Linked DNA regions of Homo sapiens: region 2 is linked to region 1. Evidence: promoter capture Hi-C in 16 types of primary human blood cells and fetal thymus (Javierre and others, 2016). All regions are on one chromosome and are shown on one strand. Each heading gives the region's core, a stretch centred on a gene start or on the middle of the fragment in contact. The rest is flanking DNA. Distances are from core to core; before and after follow the strand shown.

Evidence for each region. The method cuts DNA at HindIII sites, captures the fragments that hold promoters and counts their contacts. A CHiCAGO score of 5 or more calls a contact.
Region 2: the fragment with the promoter of BAZ2A here is called in contact with the fragment with the promoter of METTL1 in region 1 in 2 of 17 cell types (monocytes and naive CD4 T cells); the score reaches 6.8 in monocytes.

What each region holds. Positions count from the first base shown.
Region 1 is chr12:57,766,453-57,773,359 of GRCh38, forward strand. METTL1 (methyltransferase 1, tRNA methylguanosine) reads right to left here and starts at 5,653. Exons shown (of 6, transcript NM_005371.6): 1 at 5,522-5,653; 2 at 4,642-4,805; 3 at 3,320-3,504; 4 at 3,113-3,226; 5 at 2,851-2,952; 6 at 2,019-2,699. The coding sequence starts at 5,631. The coding sequence ends at 2,544. It overlaps EEF1AKMT3 (EEF1A lysine methyltransferase 3), which reads left to right and starts at 6,162. Exons shown (of 3, transcript NM_015433.3): 1 at 6,162-6,449; 2 at 6,565-6,676. The coding sequence starts at 6,273. CYP27B1 (cytochrome P450 family 27 subfamily B member 1) reads right to left here and starts at 626. Exons shown (of 9, transcript NM_000785.4): 1 at 395-626. The coding sequence starts at 589. RefSeq lists enhancers at 4,512-5,711, 5,397-5,686, 5,817-6,326. The HindIII fragment of the contact is 5,954 bases long and covers 1,510-6,907 here.
Region 2 is chr12:56,627,940-56,634,678 of GRCh38, forward strand. It overlaps BAZ2A (bromodomain adjacent to zinc finger domain 2A), which reads right to left and starts at 2,387. Exons shown (of 29, transcript NM_001300905.2): 1 at 2,186-2,387. RefSeq lists a silencer at 1,974-2,323 and enhancers at 2,544-2,593, 2,624-2,693, 5,243-5,292, 6,519-6,568. The HindIII fragment of the contact is 7,835 bases long and covers 1,144-6,739 here.

The sequences.
Region 1 (6,907 bases), core at 4,403-6,902:
GAGGAGAAATCTCTAAAAGTTCCATGTCTGGACTGTCCATCTCAGGACGAGTCCTCAGTGAATGAAAAGGAACCCATGTAGCTTTAAGCCGCAAGCAGGCGGAGGGTACTGCCCACTCCGGCCTCCCCCTCCCGCGCACTTGTACTTTATCTGCAGGATCTCCACACCTCAGGACAGCGAGAAGGCGCTTTCGCAGCGCCCTCTGCTAAGAGTCGGGACGGGCTCTGCCCGAGTGTAGCCACACCGCCCCCAGCCTCAACTCGCCTTTTCCTTATTTCATGGGCATCCGTTCTCTCTGGCTGTCCCACATTTGCTCTGCACTAGTCAGTCCTTTCTGACGCTGTCAAAACCAGTTTCCCCAGCACTCTGTCTCGGGAAAGGCGTCCCTTCCTACCTGCAGCTCGTGTAGCCTCGACAGCCCCCCCTTGCAGAAAAGTTCGGCCAGAAAGCTGGGCGTAGAGGGGCCTGGGATGTCTGCCAAGCTCCGGCGTGCTGAGTGGTACTCTCGGTAGCCTAGGGAGGCGCCCAACTCGGGCGCCCAGCGGACGCGATGGAACACTCTGGAGGCGTACTTGAGGGTCTGGGTCATGGTCTGGTTCAGGGTGCTCGCGAAAGAAAGCGCTTCTCCTGAGCATCATATCTCAACCCCTATTTAACCTTTGGGTGAGGTGATGACGCCCCCTCTCCAAGCTCCTCAGCCAATCCCTCCTCCTGAGTGGTCTGTGCTGGGGATTAGCACCCAGGAACAGTAGGCGGGGCTGGGGCTGACTTCACAACTCCCTTGGGTCTCATGTTGCAATGACCCTCATGGGAGGGAGGGCCTAAGATTTTCCTCCTGGGAGAGTGCCTTTGTCTAGGAGCCTCAAAGTCTCATCCTAGGAAAGGCTATAAGGCTTTTTAGTAGGGACTAGGTGACCAAGCTACACTAGTCAGTCTCTGATATTCCCACTTCTACCAGTGAGCCCAGCCCCTTTAGGCCCATCCTCAGGAATTCCCCATCTTTCAGCTCCTCCAGGAAGGGAAGCAGGGGAGGCACAGCTGTAACTGTCCCCACATTCTTGGCTTAGTGGGTTGTATCTTCTCTGCATTATTTTCCTGCACTAGCCACACCTCCCCCTCCTCCTGTACCTAACATATACTGGGCAGATGGCAGGTGGGTTAATGGGCTAAAATGGCTCCTAGAACCTCCATCTTTCTTTCTTGAGGATAAGGGGGTCTCTTGGGTATACAAGCCCCCTCCTTCCAGACATGGGAATTTGGGGCTTGAGAAGCAGAAATGAAACTTTTTGTACATTAGTTAAGTTCAGAGATTGTCTGTGGGGTGTTAGAGGAGCTAAATGGATGTGGATGTTCTAATTCCCCAGCTGACTCGGTCTCCTCTGGGGGGCTTTCTGGTTAGCAGCTCCTTTCTACTTTTAGCCTCAGAATCCTGTGGTGGCTCATGCCTATAATCCCAGCACTTTGGGAGGCTGAGGCAGGAGGATGGCATGAGGCCAGGAGGTTGAGACAAGCTTGAGCAACATAGCAAGACTGTCTCTACAGAAGAAGTTTAAAAATTAGGCTGGGCACGGCAGCTCATGACTGTAATCCCAACACTTTGGGAGGCTAAGGTGGGCAGACTGCTTGAGCTCAGGAGTCTGAGACCAGCCTGGGCAACATAGTGGAACTGTCTCTACAAAAAATACAAAAATTAGCCAGGCATGGTGGCGTATGCCTGTAGTGCCTTGAGAGGCTGAGGTGGATTACATGAGCCCGGGAGGTCAAGGCTGCAGTGAGTTATGATTGTACCACTGCACTCCAGCCTAGGCAACAGAGAGAGGGCCTGTCTCTAAAAAAAATTAAAATAAAAGAATCTCCCACAGTTTACCTCTCTGCTCCTTACTCCCTCATTCCCCACTGCAACTCTATCAGGCTCTGTGCCAGTCAGCTAGCTCTGAAGTTCTGGAATTGAAGGTCAATGTGAAAAAGGAGAGGGTCTCCACCCCCACACCTTCCCAAGGACTCTCCAGAGACAACACTTAGGGAACACAGATTCCCCAGGTCAAGTCTTACGCAGGGAGAGGACAGGAGGATGGTAGAAGGCATATGATACATACTCCACCCTTTCCTGAGAAATGGCAGAATAGGCATGTGTACACATATACATGTTATCCCAGGATCCACAAAGCAAACAGAAGTGGTAATTGAGCCTAGCAAGCAGTTTAGATGGACTACATTCCTCATTCCAGCTGAGGAGAGATCTCACAAGGAGAAAGGAGTGCTAAGGAAGAGCAAGACCCCACAGCCTTCCAAAGATCCCCTATGGTCCAAAGTCCTTTGACCATCTCAGTCAGCTGCTTTGTTTTCTGTTGGCAGTGGAGGGACAAGGTGAGAGGAGCCAGGGGTAGTCATGAACACCAGTGGGTTCTGCCCTGGGCAGCTCCCCACCTTCTTTAAGAGAGTACTGTGTCTCAGCTCCAGCAGTCTCAACTGGGAAGACCCAGGACTCCTGCTCTTTTCTCTAATCCCTGGGAGACGAGGTCCAGCTAAGGTAGAGTAAGCAGTCAGTGACCAGGCAGGCTGGTTTGGGAGGTCACTGCCTGGAGGACGGGATCTTGTATTCTTCGGAAGATGGCTGGGAAATTCTTCCCTCCATTACGTAGAACTTTCTTCCCCTCCTCAGTTGAGGTGCCTAGATGTCCCACAACGGGGTCTTCACTCTGGGAGAAGGAAGGGTCCAATAAGTCCTTGCCCACTGTTCAGACTGCCCCTGGCCCTTAGACACCTATCCCATCCTCCTGGCACTGAGTTAAGTCCAAATACAGAACCACTCTGGAAAGGGCCTCCACCTCCTCTAGGTCCCCTACTCACCAGGTCCTCCAGAGGCACACGCTCAAACAGTGGGTGCTCTTCGAAATGAGTGCACATCCAGTCGTGTAGCTCCAGCACATCGGTTATGGTATACACCAGCCCCTGCATAGGCAAAATCACCCTAGACAGGAGGCTGCATGCAACGTCAGCAGCCAGATGAAGGAAGTGGTGGTGTGAGTCCCTAAATGCACCCCCACTGAATTCTTAGTGAAGGGCCCCTGAGTAGGCCACTCACCCCATCATCCCTCCGATCCCAACTCACCCCAACTCTTAGCACGTAGGCATATTCTGCTAGCAGGGTGGGACTGATGATTCGCCACTTGTGCTTTGTCCGCTTGAAATGTGGGTCGGGGAAGAGGAAGAACATCTTTGTCAGCTGTGAGACAGACACACACCAACAGGGTTGTGAGAGCCTGGCCTCCATGCCCCCACCTGCCTACCAGCCTAACCCACCAGGGCCCCTCCCCACCTGGCCCTTGTAGAAGAAGTTAGGAAGGTGCTTCATGGCATTGCTACGGAGACAGGCGATGTTCTGGAAGCCACCTGCAGGAGCTGCGCGTAGGGCCCGAATCCGGTCTTGTACATAGTCTGAGACCTTCACCCGGATCTCCAGACCCAGAATAAGTGTGTCTGGGAACAGCGGTGACAGTTCCACTGCACACAGAAATAGCAATGGAATCATCAACCATATACTTGTAGGAAGTGCAAAGGGGTCAACACAGGAAAGGAAGCCTCAACCTGCAACTACCAAAGTCCAGAACGGCAAGAGAGGACAGAGATACATATATGGATAGTTTTATGCTCAAGAGGCGGGGGGAGAAATGAAAATTGTCACCAGGACCAGAATGGGAGGGCTGAGGATACATGTATATTTGCCATTGCTTTAGAGTTTTCCACAGTGTTTTCACACATTGTGTTATTTCATCCTTATAACACTCTGTGGTAAATTGTGAAGATAAGGAAACTGAGGGTCAGATATGCCGAAGATCATAGAGTTAAGAAGGGGCAGAACTGGAACTTATTTATTTGAGATGGAGTCTTGCTCTGTCACCCAGGCTGGAGTGCAGTGGCACAATCTTGGCTCACTGCAATCTCTGCCTCCCAGGTTCAAGTAATTCTCCTGCCTCAGCCTCCTGAGTAGCTGGTCTTGAACTCCTGGCCTCAAGTGGTCCACCTGCCTCAGCCTCCCAAAGTGTTGGGATTACAGGTGTGAGCCACTGTGCCCAGGCAGAACTGGACCTTAAACCAAGGTTTTCTGCCTCTATGTACCATGCTCTTCTTCTCTATCAGGCTGTTATCTGTTTGGGAAGATCTAAAAATAGGGAGTGGCTTGGCATGCATGGGTGGGACAATACAGACAATACAAGAGGAACCCAAAAAACAGGAGAGTGGGGCAGAAGGAATGAGATCTGGCGAGGGAGGGGCAAAGGGGAGGGGAGATGGTAGAATCTCTGAGAAAAGACAGTTCAGGATCACTGGCCACAACGGCTAATCTCTGATGCTTGTGCTGACCAGCTCACTGACCCGGAACCTGGCAGATGAAATGGCTCATGTAGGGATTGACGCCAGAAAGGACAACCCAGGTTTTAAGAAGCATTTGAGGCAGCCCCCTCCACTCTCCAGGGCAAAGGTCACAGACCCAGAGTAGAGGGTAGGTGGAGCCTCTCCATGCTGATGTCACCAGTGTCTGGACGAAAGGGGAAAGGCCAATTATGACCCCCCACAAAAGTTGCTGAGGCAGCAGAAGCTACTAGGCCTCTTCTCACCCCAAAAAGAGGGCCTGAGTGTTACCTAACAGGCCACCATAGCCACAGCCTATGTCTGCAAACTCCACTTGGGCCTGAGCTCTCTTTTCTTTCTTATCCTTTGGGTCATCGTGGCTCTGATTTTGAGTGAGTGGAGCGAAGAACTCTGGGTATAGCTCAGACCAGTCCATCTCCTCTGGCTTCACAGGGCTATTGGAAAGAAGACATAAGAAGCATGAGAAGGTTGGTCACACCATTGCAGAAGTGGTACTGTGAGAGTGTGTGGGTGGGTGAGGGTGGGAGGTAAAAGGGAGGAGGGTTTCTCAAAAATTCTGTAACACTGGGCCCTGTGGCCTCTAAGAGGGACAATGGAAACCACCCTTAACTCCCAGTGTGAATCATAGGACCATCATGAGGCCCATAAACGCTGACCTGCCCAACTCCACTTCTGGCGGTTGATGTGACCCTGGCCGGGTAACTGCCCTTTCTGGGGCACAAGTTCCCCTTCTCCCGAGACTGGCTGCCTAATGCACTGGGATCCTACTTTGTGTTTGTGCTCTGCGGGGAGGGAAGGTAAGGTAAGGTGCGGGCAGGATTGTGTATATGTTTGCCTTTTTATTAAATCCAACAAACAAAAGCAAAAGATGGAAACGACATTCTGCCTCTATCACTTCAGTCTCAGTAACAATTTATTTCTCTTCCCAAACTTAGCACCGCTACCCAGACTTAGGCCCGAACGCCACGCCCACTCTCAACCCGCCAACTCCTCTCTCGGTCGAATCTCCCGGTCCCACCCCCAAAAACTGACGTCACCCATCTGATCCTCCCGGGTCTACCCCAAATCCTCCCAGCAGTTGCAGCACAACTGCTCTCCCGGCTGCTTTGAGAATCCCGCCCTCCTCTCTCTCCCTCTGCCCACTCCTCACTAGCGCAGCGTGTGGTCCGCCATGGGGTTGGAGTGAGCACGTTGCCGGTAGTAGCGCTTCTGGGGCGGTGGGGCCTCTGCTCCGGCCACGTTCCGAGTCTCGGCTGCCATGATCCCAGTCCGGGGTTTCTCTACCAAATCCACGTGGAGGCGCAGGCCAGAGGCGCAAGTTAATGACGCAGCCATGCGCGTTGGTGGCAGTTCCCGCCCCTTAAAGACCCAAGAGCAAATTCAGCTGGGCTGGGCTGGGCTGGGCTGGGCTAGGTGGGGAGGGCTGTAAGGAGCGAGTGCTGGAGGGAACCTCCGCACCGTTAGCCTCCAACTGGGAGGGCGAGGCCAGGCCCAGGGACCCAACGTTTTCTCTTAGCTTGCTTCTGCCTGGTCTGGGTTACCATCCTGGTTGCAGGCACCTGTGCACCCCACAGGTGAGAGGGGTCTAGAGACCTCGCCTTCTACAGTGGCATCAGTCCTCGCTCCTGTCCCCTTACTCCTGGTCTCGGACCAGTCCGCCCGGTCTGACTCTTGTGGTCCCGTGTGGGTTTCGTCGAGTGTGCGCTCGGGGCCGGGGCGGGAGGGGCAGCTCCTCATTCCACCTCCAGGAAATCGAACTGGAGGAAGGAGGGCAAACTCAGGGAGGCGGGGCTCGTTCCACAGGGACACCACGACGGCTCGCGGCCCCCAGCCTCTACCCCGCTCCGGATCCGGGATCTGAGCGCCGGCCGCGGTGCCCAGGCACTCCCTTGGCGGGCCGGATGGCGGACCCCGGCCCAGATCCCGAATCTGAGTCGGAATCGGTGTTCCCGCGGGAGGTCGGGCTCTTTGCAGACTCTTACTCGGAGAAGAGCCAGTTCTGTTTCTGTGGGCATGTGCTGACCATCACGCAGAACTTTGGGTCCCGCCTCGGGGTGGCGGCGCGCGTGTGGGACGCGGTGAGGAATGGGCTGCGCCGGGTGAGGGTCCGTGGGAGGTCCAGATCCCGGACTCCGCCTCTCCCATATGGAGCCATCCTCACGACTGTCTTTTTCTCTGTCTTTTCTCCCGTAGGCCCTGAGCCTGTGCAATTATTTCGAGAGTCAAAATGTGGATTTCCGAGGCAAGAAGGTGATCGAACTGGGTGCGGGGACAGGCATCGTGGGGATCTTGGCAGCGCTGCAGGGTGCGTGAGCTGGCTTTTTACGGGAGAGAGTGGGGACCCAGGGGCGCGGAGAAATGGTCACTTCGTGGATCTTTGGGGGAGAGGGGAGAACTTTGGGCCCAGTCTAACCCCTTCTTTTTAACAAATTTTTTTTTAAAATTTGTTTTTGTTTTTATTTTGGCGTCTGCTTCTGCGTGCCAGACAGCGCGAATTGCCTGTCAAAGCACCTAGGGTGGGTGATTGGGGAGGGCA
Region 2 (6,739 bases), core at 1,137-3,636, 1.1 Mb before region 1:
GGGAGGCCGAGGTGGGTAGATCACCTGAGGTCAGGAATTCGAGACCAGCCTGGCCAACATGATGAAACGCCGTCTCTACTAAAAATAAAATAATTAGCTGGATGCGGTGGCGGGCTCCTGTAATCCCAGCTACTCGGGAGGCTGAGACAGGCAACTCGCTTGAACCCGGGAGGCAGAGGTTGCAGTGAGACAAGATCACACCACTCCAGCCTGGGCGACAAAAGCAAAACTCCGTCTCAAAAAAAAAAAAAAAAAAAAAAGACAGAAAGAAAAAAAAAGAAAAGAAAAAGAAAAGAAAGAAAAATAAAATTCTGTGGCCAACTGTTGCCCCTAACCAAATCCAGTGTGCCACAAAATGCCTGGGGACATAGCACACAGTCCATCACTATATGTTACAGGAGAAATATCCTGGGATTATCAAGTGAAAAGAAAGAAAAAAAAAATCTGGGCACGACTTTGCAGGGAACAGAGGAAAAGCTTACCAATCTCCAAGAAGAATAAGAGGGGAGACGTTCTTTTATGGATTAAAGAGTAAGTCATATGATAACAAACTGTACTATTCTAATTAGTTGATTCTGCAGAAGGTAGTATCTCCAGCACCCCTTAGTCAAATAACAAGCTTCCCACAGGGGCTGCCCTTAGGCTAGAATCACCACCAAGGACTGAGTTCACCAATCTCAGTCTGTTAATCAGTCCCTACCCCCGACACACAAATCCATCTAATAGTTAAATCTTCCTCACCCCTTCCTCTTCGTCCATTTCTTAGAATCTACCCTTCTTCACAAGCTCACTTGCTCAGGTGCTCTGCAATATAGAAACTGTCATAATAACTATACTAAAGTAGGACCCCAAGAAGCTACTCGTGCCACAAAAGCTCTCTAGTCTCCCTGACAGCTCTCTATGCTGAGGGAATTTGCATCACTTACATAGAGCGTACCCCGCTGGTAGATAACTGAGTTTGCTTCTCTATGACCTCTAGCTAAAGGGAAAACAAAACGAAACCAGACAGGAAGACAGAGATGTTCTGGAGAAGGGATTGGGATACGTGAGTCAACTGAAGTTGACTACTTCCAGTTGACAAGTTTACAAAAAAAAAAAAAGTCCAACGAAAGGTCTCTCGGGCCACATGGTTGGCAAGATCCAAGCTTGCCCAGAAGGCTTCAGAAAATGAAACCAAATCTGATTAAAATGGACATTTCAAAACAACAAGACACGCAGCAGCAAACGCACAGCTGCCATTTCCCGGCCACTTCCTGCGGGAGGCTGGGGGAGGGGCTGTTTGTGTACAGATAGAGGTGGAAAGCTATCCCCTCCGTCGTCCCCCAAAGCAGACAAATCTCTCACTCCAATTAACCCTACAAAGGACAACTGCTATTGACATTGCCTTCTCCTGAAAACTGGGAACACCGGGAAAGAAAGGGATGATGCGGTATCATCTTTCTGCCACGGAAGCGGGGATCCCCTCAGTGAGGAATCTCCTTGGAAAAAGGAATTCCTCTTTATTCTTCCCTTCTGCCCCTCAGCCCAGCTCAAATTGGAAAGCCTCAGCGGAAGCCCTATCAACCTCCATCCCCGGAGTGCGCGATTCTCCCGGGACGCGAGGGCCCCAAGCCAAGCGCAGCACCACCCTCAGCAAGGAAGGCCCTCTCCTGATCTTCACGCTCAAGAGAATGGGTGCGCTCCCCGAGGGAGACACCCTCAGACCCCTGGAAACCCCTTCCGCCCTCCACTCACCACAGTCAAAACGCCCAGCTCCCCGCAAACGGAGCGTTTTAACCCGCCAAGGGAACCCCCTCACCCACCCCTCGCGCTCAGGCAATCCCCACCCCCACCCGAGGAGGTGGAGCCCCTCCCGGGGATTCCACCCCAAGTCCCCCACAGGAGTCATCTCCACCAGCCAGGCGGCTTCTCCGCCTCCTCACTGTCGCCGGGAGCCCCTACAGCTCCTCCTGCCCCCGCGGCCCCGTCCGGGGTCCTCAGCAGCCCCACCAGCCCTGTTCTCCTCCCAGACCCCAGAGCAAGGAGACCCTCGCCTCGGGTTGGATCCTCGCAGGAAATAAGCTCCCGTCGGCTTCCCGCCCCGGCAAGGCTCAAGCCGGCTCTGGAGCTTCTGTTCCCCGAGGGAAGCCTCGGATGAAAGCGGGGCTCCCTCCCCCTCAGGCCCCTGGCCACAGACCCCACAAACCTGAGGCAGCGGCGTCCAGCCGGGCTCGGGGCTCGTCTCTCCCCGGGGTACAAGCGGTTCACATGGCCGCGCTCCGGGCGCCAGAACGGGTGGAGACGCCCGCTGGGGAGGGGGTCTGGGGTCCGGGGTTCGGGAAGGGGGAGGGGGACGCGGCTCAACCGCGGGGCCCGAGAGGAGCCAACATGGCCGGCGGGGGAGGAGTGAGTCGGAGCCGGAGGGGGCGGAGAAGCCTCGGCCGGGAGAGAGTCTCCCCACGCGGCCTCCGCCACAGGGTCCTAAAGCCCGCCAGCCCATCTTTCCGACCCGGACCTGGGTCCTAGCGCCGCTGTGCCTCCTGCAACTCTGGCCACCTTGCCCACCTGGCAGCTCCCTCTGCACCCGCATCTCATGGAGGCAGTGGTCCTGCTTCACACAGGGCAAACTGAAAGGCATGCCACAGTCCCAAGGTTAACTTAAAAGACTAGACCAAACGTCTAGGCCCAAAGGCAGGTGCCACTTCTCTAACAGGCTGGTAGGGGTAAGAGTCAGGGGAATTTCGGGGGCAGTTATTTCCCAGGTAGGGTAATGGAAACGTGGAAATAGAAAGGTTAGTCACTCAGGTCGCGATTCAGTAAAGGGATGGGGAGAGGCAAGAGTCAGCCACCCACTCACCTCTGTCCCTTCAGTGCAGCCTGGTCCTGCCTGGATCACCACTTTCCTGGCGACATCTGCAGGGCCCTGGTCACCGGAAAGGAAAGATTCCTGTGCGTGGGGGAAAGAAGGTTCGGCTCTGGAACCAGACAGCAAAGACCTGAGTGTAGCCTAAATGCAGTCAGAGAAGTAAAGGATAAGCTGAAAACTAATCAGCAAAAAGATGCCACAAATGTCCACCCATTCTATGGTTCTGGGAATTTTTTTCTGACAGGGCTACATAACTGTGTGAAAACTCAGAAAAGTAAAATCTAGCAGAGGACTAGAGTTTGGCTGTCACCTAAAATGTCCACTGCAGGGCACCAGGATGAAGAACAGTGTCATATGATGTTAGAGCTTAGAGAATTTCTAGTTCAGGCCGGACGCGGTGGCTCACGGCTGTAATCCCAGCACTTTGGGAGGCCGAGGCAGGTGGATCATGATGTCAGGAGTTCAAGACCAGCCTGACCAACATGATGAAACCCGGTCTCTACTAAAAATACAAAAATTAGCTGGGTGTGGTGGCGTGCCCCTGTAATCTCAGCTACTCAGGAGGCCGAGGCAAGAGAATCGCTTGAACCTGGGAGGTGGAGGTTGCAGTGAACTGAGATCGCGCCATTGCACTCCAGCCTGGGTGACAGAGGGAGACTCTATCTCAAAAAAAAAAAAAAAAAAAAATTCTAGTTCAACCTTCTCTCCTTCATCAAATGAAGAAATTAAGACCCAAAGAGGTTCAATGACTTCTTCAATGTCAAACAGTGGATAAAATATGACAAGAAAGGAAACCAGGTTTCCTTTCCTTGCAACTCAACACTTTGCAGCCTTGAAGATAATTCCCATTTAATTCAATGCAATGCAGTTCTAGAAACAGTTGCCTAAACTGTGCAAAGCTCAGGCTGCTGAATATTCTGGAAAAGCAACAGAGTGGGGATGATGAAACTCTGGCAAGTTGGGGTGTCAACAAATACGTTTTCCTCTGGGGGTCTGAGGAGGAAAGAGATCTGAAAAATGGGCAGAGTTGGGGGGTGAGATCCATCAGTCTACATTGGATTTCCTTACTCCACAGAGGGGTGGGCTCTTCCTGAATTTTGGGGAAAGACTCCACCCCTCCACCCCCCCACTACAAATGGCTCAGAGAGGATAAGAAGGAAGCTAGCTTTAGCAAAGGCTCACAGAGTGTGTGGGCCACAGACACAGAAGGCTAAGGGGGTTTCTCTTCCTCTCTCGAGATAAGTAGATTACCAGTGGAGGGAATAGGCAGGTGGAAACCAAAACCCTTCTCTCCTCCCTGTCAAAACAACAGATTTACAGGTCACCTTGGGGAAAAAAAAATACTCCTCCAACAGCCTGCTGACCTCAAGTCCCTGAGTAAGTAGAGGTCACACTCAGGGTAGAGGTTTCCTTCCTTCTGGAGAAAGGAGGGCTCTGGCAAACTTCTGCTAAGAAATGCCTCTCTATCCCCAAATAAAAAATTAAGGCAGGTGAAGAAAGGCATAAAACTGAGGCCTCAAGGGCGGCGGGATGGGGGTGTGGGTAAGGAAGCTGGTATCCTTTTGTCTTCCCTGCCCTTTTCCAGAGCAGATGAGGGAGAATCTTCCTACCTCCTGCTCCCAATCTTAAAGGGGGCCAGTCGGGGACTGGGCAGGCAGGGGAGGAGCCTGCGCCCGTCAGACGGGTGTAGCCACGCCCCTCCCCACACCCACACACACCCACCACTGGCTCCACTCTGCTCCGGAAGAGCCGGTTACTCCTGTGCCCCACTGACCGCCCCCACCCCTTCCGAGCCCCAGGCCTAGTCTCCAGGGCAACCTTTAGGACTATTCCAGCCAGGAGCGGTTAGGAAGAGGGGTGTTGGATAGGAGAGGACCACTTGGGATTAGAAAAGAAAATGAGGTAGGATCCATTCTTCCCATCTGGTGCAGAAAGACTACAATCATCCTCATTCCTGAATGAGACCCCACCTCATCTCATCTAATCAGGATCTTCCTTGCTCTGAGGAAGGATGAGGTTGGGGTGACAGTGTGCCCAACAGCTGGATGTTTACTTCTTGCTAGAAGTCACCCCATGCTGCAGCTGTGCTTCTCCCCCCATCCAGACGAGAGAGGGCAGACTGACCCCAAATGTCCCGAAACACTCCTCAATCCCATCAGATGTGGCTGATCACCCACCCACCTCTCTTTTCCCCACCCATTTCCCTTCAGGAAGCTACTAGAAAGGGGAAGGGGCAAATGGTCATTTTATCAGCAACTTGTAAGGAGAGTCTCCAGGGAATAGGCTGAACCTCCCTCAAGCCAGGCCAGTGGACTAGTCATGAAGAGAATGGGGAGGGACAAATTAGCACCTGCACCCCCTTTCTCACCCTCCCTGTGTTCCTGCAGCACCTCCCTGACTCTGGGGTCAGCTGCCACAGTGCCTGGCTCCACTCTGTAGCCAGATGGCTAGGGCTGGGAGGAGGAAGAGAGAGAAGGGGATTCGTTTGCATCCCTCTACATCCTTCCCTCTCCCCCACCAGATACTCCTGGCATCCAACCCCAAACACCACTGCTGAACACCCTCTCCTCCCCCCAGCACCCCCTCCAAACATGACTTAGAAGAGTCTGAAGCAGATCTTGGCAGCCAGTCCCCTAATTCTGGAAGTGAGGAGTGGGAAATGAAAGAGCATAGCTAGGGGCGCAGCTGGACTGGGGGTGGAGGGGGAATTCTCTAATGGAGGTGGGATAATTATTAAAGACCTGCCTTCCCCTCACTGGCTGAATGGATCATACTGTTAACAGGATCTGTCTAGCAGGGAGATGGCTCTTAGCCGGGTAACCATTCCAACTAGACCCCCCCACCAGGTTAAAGCAAAAGTCTTCACCCCCTCTACAATCTGGGAAGGCTAGATTCTCCCATAACACATCACAAGGAAAACACCCCTCCCCTTCTTCCCCCACTTTTGTTTGTTTGTTTGTTTTGTTTTGTTTTGAGACAGTCTTGCTCTGTCACCCAGGCCAGAATGCAGTGTTGTGATCTCAGCTCGCTGCAACCTACGCCTGCCAGGTTCCAGCCTGCCAGGTTCAAGCGATAGTAGCTGGGATTACAGGCACACGCCACCACGACTGGCTAATTTTTGTATATTTTGTAGAGACAAGGTTTTGCCATGTTGCCCAAGCTGGTTTCGAACTCCTGACCTCAAGTGATCTGCCCACCTTGGCCTCCCAAAGTACTGGGATTACAGGCGAGCACACTCCACCCGGCCCCCTTCTCCCCTTTAAGTCGACAGGTGGCTCCTCAGATTCACACAGACTTGTTTCCAAACTTCCCAATGGGATTCTCTATGGTGGTCCTGGAAGTTAGAGAAAGCCCCTATTTCCTAGGGAGTCGGGGGGCTTCCTTTGCATCTGAACAGAGAAGACTGGACTTCTCTTGCCTTCCCCATCGCCCCAACTCCCTTAGAGATTTAGCCCCAGCTCCCCACGCACTCTCTCCCAACTGTCCCTGAGGCCCTGAAGCACAAGATTCCGGCAGCGCCCTGGCCCCCAGCTCCCAGGTTCTGGGGGAGGGGCCTTCCTAGGCTGCACCGACCAACCCTAGGCCCAGGAGGAGAGTCCTTCCCACCTGGGCTCAGTAGGCGGTGCTGAGGTTGGACCCCAAGCTCCCGGAGATGTAGGGTGGGGTGAGGACTACAGAAAAGGTTTAGATGGGACTTAGCTGAACTTAAAGGGCTGAGCGGAGCAGGGACAGATAGTGCTGTCGATGTTGCTCCCCCGCCCCCCTTACTACGGGGAAGGAGAGGAGTTGGGGTGGGTATCCCCCCTCCCATTGGGGTTAGGAAGGCGTGGGAAAGCGCTAGTTCAGAGGGGAGGAGGCGAAACCCAGACCGCGGGAGATTTTTCTGGCGAAGAA